Regions from separate parts of the Homo sapiens genome. Here region 1 is linked to region 2. The links are contacts of gene promoters, found by promoter capture Hi-C in human tissues and cell types (Jung and others, 2019). All regions are on one chromosome and are shown on one strand. Each heading gives the region's core, a stretch centred on a gene start or on the middle of the fragment in contact. The rest is flanking DNA. Distances are from core to core; before and after follow the strand shown.

Region 1 (3,822 bases), core at 310-2,809, 240 kb before region 2:
ATAACTTTGCCAAAGAATACCTGTAAAGGACGGAAGAGGTGACCATTTCTTCAAATGCACAAGCACCAATGTAAGGACACAAAGATTATGAAGAATCAGAATAATGACATCTCCAGAAGAAACAAATAAAGCTTCAACAATAGGCCCTAAAGAAATGGAGAGCTATGAAATAACTAACAAAAAATTAATATAGTTCTCTTAAAGAAGTTCAGTCAGCTATAAGAATATAAGGATAGAAGATTAAATAAAATATGAAAAATAATACAAAATGAGAAGCTTGACAAAGAAATAGGATGTATAAAAACAAAACCCAACTATATGCTACCTACAAGAGACTTACCTCACTATTAAAGATTCAAATAGACTAAAAGTGAAGTAACAGAAAAAGATATTTCATGCAAATGGAAATAGAAAAAAAAATCGTAAAATTCATACAGAAACACACACAAAAAAGCCTGACTAGCCAAGGCAGTCTTGAACAAAATGAACAAAGCTAGAGGTCTTACACTACCTGACTTCAAACTATATTACAAAGCCATAGTAATTAAAACAGCATGACACTAGTATAAACAGAAACACTGACCAATGGAACAGAATAGAGAGCACAAAAATGAACCGATGCCCTTCGTCAATTGACTTTGATAAAAATGCCAAGAACACACACAATGCGTAAAGAACAATCTCTCCCATAAAGGACAATGAGAAAATGAGATATTCACATGCAGACGAATAATATTAGTCCCACCCTATCTCACAGAGTATACAAAAATAAACCCAAAATGAATTAAAGATTTAAATGTAAAACCTGAAATTATAAAAAGTACTAGGAAAACACAGAGGAGAAAACTACACAACACTGGTCTGGGCAATGTTTTTTTTTTTTTTTTTTTATTTGACCTCCAAAAGATCAAATAACAAAAACAAAAATAGACAAGTAAGATTACAGTTAACTAAAAAATATTTGCACAACAAAGAAAACAACTACAAGTGAAGAGACAATCTGCAGATCAGAAAAAAATTTACAAGCAATACATTATATAAGGAACTAATACCCCAAATGTATAAGGAGCTCAAAAAAGTTAATAGCAAAAAAAAAAAATCCAATTTAAAAATGGGCAAAGAAACTGAATAAATATTTTTCAAAATAAGACATGCAAATGGCCAACATATATACATATATATATATATATATATATATATATATATATATAATGCTCAATATCACTAATCATTAGGGAAATAGAAATTAAAACTATGATATATCATCTATCAGAAGAGCTAGCAACAAAAAGAGGAAAGATAACAACCGTGATGGTGAGGATGTGAAGAAAAGGGAACACTGTACACTGGTGGGAATATAAATTAGCACAGCCATTACAGAAAACAGTGTGGAGTTCCCTTAGAAAACTAAAAATAGGATTACCATATGTTCCAGCAACCCTATTCTAACTATATACCCTTAGGACTTGAAATTAATATGTCTAAGAGATATCAGCACTTCCATGTTTGTTGCAGCATTGTTTACAATAGCCAAGTCATGGAATCAATCTAAGTGTCAATCAATGGATAAATGGAAAAAGAAAATGAGATATATACACACAATGGAATGTTCTTCAGCCTTAAAAAAAAAAGAAAGAAAAAAAGAAAAAGAAAGAAATTATTTCATTTACAACATGGATGAACCTGGAGGACACTATGTTAAGTGAAATAAGTGAGGCACAGAGACAAATACCCTGTGATCTCACTCATGTGGAATTTTAAAAAGTCAAATGCACAGAAGCAGAGGGTAGAACGGTGGTTACCAGAGGCTGGAGGGTAGGGAAAATGAGAGGTGTCGGTCAAAGGGTATTAAGCTTTAAACAGGAGGAATAAATGATATATATTTAAAATGGGGAGCCGGGCACAGTGGCTCACGCCTGTAATCCCAGCACTTTGGGAGGCTGAGGCAGCCAGCTCACAAGGTCAAGAGATCAAGACCATCCTGGCAAACATGGTGAAACCCCATCTCTATTAAAAAATACAAAAAAAAAAATTATCTGGGCATGGTGGTGTGCACCTGTAGTCCCAGCTACTTGGGAGGCTGAGGCAGGAGAATCACTTGAACCCAGGAAGTGGAGGTTGCAGTGAGCTGAGATCCTGCCACTGCACCCCAGCCTGGGCAACAGAGCAAGACTCTGTCAAAAAAAAAAAAAGATGGATATGTCATTGGCTTGATTCAATCATTCTAAACTGTGGGCATATATCACAACATCATTGTGCACCCCACAATTACATGCAATTATAATTTGTCCTAAATAAATAAATACAACTTAAACATTTACACTTCAACATTTAAGCCTAAGAACATGTGGGAAATAGTCTGTTTTAGCTCCATCTTTTATATTCCATGAATCCCTGAAGTCCTACTTGAGGAAAATCAAGAAATTTCACAGAAGTTAGAGTCACACAAGCACTGAAAAGCTTGCGGTCACAAAAAACCCATGTACCTCCTCAGCCTTTCTTCTCTGTGAACATGAGGGGCTACCTTAGTGCCAGCAAGATGGAAACCAGAGAGATGGGCACAGCGGCCAATGTGGATAAGAGGAGACAGACCTTTTCCTTGAGACAGAAAGTGGTATGGGCATACATCATAACATCACAATATGATATGAGTGGCATCCTGACAAGCCTTGAGCTAGTAAAGGATGAAAAACAAGAAATACTGTTTTCTCCGAATAACATAACAGTATCCAAATAAAAATAGCCTTATAAAATTATATTTAATTCTGGATTTTGTAAACATATTTTAAACTTGCAATGCAAGTTAGATTTTTAGAAATATGTATTTCATGTAAATTGACATCTCCATTACCTATTTTATTTGAGTATTGCAAATACTTAAAAAGTTTAGTGGAGAATATTTGCTTAGAAGGTAATTAAGGAAATCTTTTTTTAATGAAAGCAATTCATGTATTCACAGTGCTTTCAGTTAATATAATTGCTTAATATTAATGTGCAGCATAGATGGCTTAAATTGGTTTTCATTTGATACAGAGCATCAAAGCTTTCCATCGAGATTAGATTTCACCAAGTAACCTGCATTTCTAGACACATAAAGTGTTTAAAGATAGTTATTGTGGAAACATTTCAACGTAATTGAAAATTATAGTAGACGATCCCTTCACTGGCCTTTGTAGTCAAAGTTAAACTGTTAAGTTGTTACGATGCAAGTATGCCTAAATGTTAGCAATCCTTAGCAAGTCGGTATCACGGTAGAGGCGGACATACAGTAATCATAGGAACATCAAATGAAGGTAGCCTCTTCTTGTATTATGCAGCATCACTCTGAGAACTAGTAATGTTCAAGCTTTTCTACAGATTCAGAGCTGCTTCCTGAAAATAAGTTTGGTCCAGCCAGAAGGACCTCTTGTAGTCCACCTTGTGCAGAAAGAGGGATGAACTTCCACAAGGAGAAACATGAGTTTTCAACTTCCTTTAAACATCTTGTTTGCAGACTGCATGACAAGCATTTAGAGGCCGTGAGTGTGCTTTCAACCAGACAGAAATGCCTTGCTTCAAGGGAAAACCGTGTGTGCTATCTAGTGCACCTACCAAAAGTCCATGGGAGCGAGAGTCTAGAAAGAAAGAAAAAGGGCGTCTCTCTCTTTCCGCCGCTCAAGATGCCGAAAGGAAAGAAGGCCAAGGGGAAGAAGGTGGCTCCGGCCCCTGCGGTCATGAAGAAGCAGGAGGCCAAGAAAGTGGTGAATCCCCTGTTTGAGAAAAGGCCTAAGAATTTTGGCATTGGACAGGACATCCAACCCAAAAGAGACCTCGCCCACCTTG
Region 2 (4,043 bases), core at 1,365-3,864:
GAGCCAAGCCCCTGCTTCTAATGGAGCAGCCTTGGAGAAAAGGAGCCAGAGAGAAGCCACACCTTCCAGATGAGTGATAACACTGGGACCACAACCAGCACACCCCCGCCTCCAGCTGTTCTTTTCTGGAATGGGAGGAGGTGGTAGTCTCCTGCCGCAGATTTGGTCCAAAGTAACAAATACAGCCTTGTTTGGCACCAGCCATACTCATCCCACCCAGAAGCCGAGAGTATGCCAGCCTGGGGCGAGTGGTGAAGGTGATGTGGCTAACAAAGGGGACAGGACTGTTTTTGTTTTGTCCTGGTTTTTTGAGACCGAGTCTTGCTCTGTTGCCCAGGCTGGAGTGCAGTGGCACGATCTTGGCTCACTACAGCTTCCGCCTCCTGGGTTCAAGCAATTTCCGGCTAATTTTTGTATTTTTAGTAGAGATGAGGTTTCCCATGTTGGCCAGGCTGGTCTCGAACTCCTGACCTCAAGTGATCCACCCGCCTCGGTCACCCAAAGTGCTGGGGATACAGGCATGAGCCAGAGTGCCCGGCTGGGATACGACTGTTATAAGTTCATGAAATGACTCAGGAGAACAATGACTCACTCATTCATAATTGTATTTGTTCTTTGACAGTGAAAAAAAACTACATTTCTTCAGGATTTTCATTTTAATGAAAAGTTTTCCTATGAAAAATCTAACTACCTTAAAATGATCTGTGTTCCTTGTAATGTGATTACTCTAGCCCTATGAAAGCATCTCGTGATAAATTGTCATACAAATTTGAGGCATCTTTTTTGTAAATTGTCAAGCCATTTGATTAATATTTAATAAGGACAAATAATTATAATAAGGAAATATCATGAAATTTGGCACCCGATTCAAATTCCATATCTTCAATTTTCTGCACCCAGTGCTCTTGGTCAATTACTTAATCCCGTGACTTAATCTCTACGTCATCTACTTCATCAGCTGCAGATGTACCTCACGGGGTTGGAGCATGCAACAGGTGGGGCATGTAACAGTAAATAAGGGTTTAGCACACTTTTTTGTAATGTTTTTAGAATTATCTTAAAATATTGACTCTTCTAGAATTAATAATTTAATTATTAATAAATATTTATTTAATAGTAAAACAGGCTTTAATAAGTATTTATTTAAGCATTTAATACTCTAAAACAGGCTTTAAGAGACTTCAAAACCTGACAATATGCTTGATGTTTATTTTCCATTTGATTCAAAGATTACAAAGTTTTCTTGTCAAGATGAGTAAGCTCAAGAGTTATGAAAGCTCAAGGGATGGTGAGAGTAAATGACAGAGTATCTGACAACAAGTATGTGTGAGTATCTTCACAGACGTTGGCCGTACCCAGGCTTAGAAGAGAAAGGAAGATTGGATTAGAAAAATAAGAGAAGTAAAGGAGGATGGACTGGCTGAGGAGGGGAGGGGGCACAGGAATAAATGTGGTCTATTTGAAGAAAGCTGGGGAATTGGGTTTTGGAAAAGAGAGTGGGTGTAGGTAATCATCTGAGATAAGAGAAAGGGTGTATGGCCAGGCGCGGTGGCCAGAACTTTTGGAGGCCAAGGAGGGTGGGTCACCTGAGGTCAGGAGTTTGAGACCAGCCTGGCCAACATGGTGAAACCCCATCTCCACTAAAAATACAAAAATTAGCTGGGTGTGGTGGGCGCCTATAATCCCAGCTACTCGGGAGGCTGAAGTGGGAAAATTGCTTGAACCTGGGAGGCGGAGGCTGCAGTGAGCCGAGATCGCTCCACCGCACTCCAGCCTAGGCAACAGAGTGAGACTCTCATCTAAAAAAAAAAAAAAAGAAAGAAAAAAGAAAAAGAGAAACGGTGTATTGAGATTCCATAAGGTAGAACCAGGTTCTGAAAGATCAGATAAGCAAAGCAGAAGAATTCTCATTATCCTGTCAGCAGCATAAAGAAAAAAACTCCCTGGTTTGATTAGCAGGGGATTGACTGACTGATGCAATAAAAACCCTCGGGGACAAAACTATAAAACTTAGAAAGCTGTGAAGAGTTCCTCCTCACTGAAGCCAAATATCAAGTATGAATTATCTGGGATTGTTCCCTGACCTCCCATCTGTGACAGATTCCATAGGCAGTTATCCCTACTCTTGGTTTTTCTTTCCACAGATACTGGAATGAACACTTCTCCAGCAAACGTTCTAGAAACTAACAAGTCAGGCATTATTTTCTACTAAGGAACAAACACAGTCTTGAGTGTTAGCTCGAAGGCTTCTTTCCTGTGAAATTGTCAATATACACTAGATTCATTAAGAAAGAAAACCCCAAACCTTAAGGAGCTAGAGGTGTTAGGCACTGTACATGGCACTGGAGATAAAACAAGATATTTATCCAACCAAGGTCAGGGCTATTAAGCATTTTCTGGGAGTCCATTAAAAATGTAAATTACGGACCCCACCGTAGATTTCTGGAATCAGAGACCCTGTGAAGAGGCTTGCGTTTTAATAAACTCAGGTGGTTCTAATGAGATTAATTGTGTGAATATGATAAGAAACTTCACAGACGCCTTCCTGATGGTGTGAGGGCGGGGCTGAGGGAGGAATTGAACAGATAAAATCTCTTCAGTCTCCACTGTTCCAGCTTTTTCCCTAAAGGAAATACCTTGGTTCGGTGTGGTGACTCATTCCTGTAATCCCAGTACTTTGGGAGGCTGAAGCAGGCAGATTGCTTGAGCCCAGGAGTTCAAGACCAGCCTGGGAAAAATACTGAAACCCCGTCTCTACAAAAAATACAAAAATTAGCCGGGTGTGGTCGTGCAGCGCCTGTAATCCCAGCTACTCAGGAGGTCAAGGTGGGAGAATCACTTGAGCCTGGGAGCTCGAGGCTGTAGTGAGCCGAGATTGCGCCACTGCATTCCAGCCTGGGTGACAGAGCAAGACCCTGTCTCAAAAAAAAAAAAAAAAAAAAAAAAGGAAATACCCAGGATTGCTACAAAGAAAGTAAGTGAGATTTTCTCTATAGATCATTTTCTTAATAATTGTTTCTTTAGATTTCTAAACTTGATCTTAGAATCTATGTGTGTGTGTGTGTATCTGTGTGTTATCAGGAAAAAGCCTGAAGAAAAATATTAGGAAAAACAAAATAAGGGTAGACAACATGCTGGGGACTTAATTCGTCAATTTTCCTTTGCTGTTTCTGTAAAAATATTTAGTCTCTGTCCCTCTCTCATTACACCTTCAATTTTTACTGGTTTAACATAAAATATCGTTTACAATATTTATTGTGCATCGAGTATGTCAGATGTAGACACAGGGCATCTCAAGGACTTAGTTTCTTATGGATGGAGAGTGACCCACAAGTAAACTTGTTCATAGAAAGATAAAATCTTTTCGCTACTAAGAAAATAAAATAAGGAGATGAGTAGTGGGAAGGTATTTCAAATTGAGTAGTGATGGAAAGGTCTCTCTTGGGAAGACATTTGAGCTGAGAACTGAAGAGAAGAAAGAAGAGGCAGCTGGAATTGCAAAAATATGAGAGAAGAGCTCTGTTGGCCACGGAAGGGGGAAGGGCTGTGATGAATTAGAGGCAGCTAGATTGACAGTGATGGGGGAAAGCTATAGAGAGATCAGAAGAAGGCAGGAGGCCAGATTGTATAGGACGGGGTTATTACCCACTTCGATCTTACTCTAATGCCATAGAAAGTGACCACAAACCTGCTCACTTGGTTTTGGTTTTAAAATAGTATTCTGGTGGTTGAGCAGAGAGGAGCTGGAGATGGACGAGGAGGGCAGGACAGAATATAAATTTGGAAAACAATAGTTGAATTGGTGAAAGGAAGGCTTAAACTGTGGCTCTAAAGGAATGAGTTTGGGGGAAGAGAGCCACTGGGTTGAGATCCTGAGCGGCTTTAGATATGTTAATTTTGAGTGCTCCTTAGACATTCTATTGCAAAAATGTTGGGAATTGGGCAGGAGATTGAAATCGGAGAATGGAACTTAAATCTTCAGAAACGAGTAAGATTACCTAGGGAGAGACCAGGACTGGGAGACCAGAACTCAACCTTGAAGC

What was found. The method cuts DNA at HindIII sites, captures the fragments that hold promoters and counts their contacts. A contact is called where the count stands out against the background at its distance.
Region 1: a contact is called between a fragment that was not itself captured here and the fragment with the promoter of TRIML2 in region 2, in 2 of the 25 tissues and cell types used here (IMR-90 fibroblasts and mesendoderm cells).

Annotation. Positions count from the first base shown.
Region 1 is chr4:188,349,862-188,353,683 of GRCh38, reverse strand. It overlaps the pseudogene RPL7AP27. Among named protein-coding and RNA genes, the nearest start is that of LINC01060, 100 kb to the left of the region's middle. The HindIII fragment of the contact is 3,273 bases long and covers 1-3,195 here.
Region 2 is chr4:188,108,174-188,112,216 of GRCh38, reverse strand. TRIML2 (tripartite motif family like 2) reads left to right here and starts at 2,614. Exons shown (of 8, transcript NM_173553.4): 1 at 2,614-2,974. RefSeq lists an enhancer at 3,583-4,043. The HindIII fragment of the contact is 13,208 bases long and covers 1-4,043 here.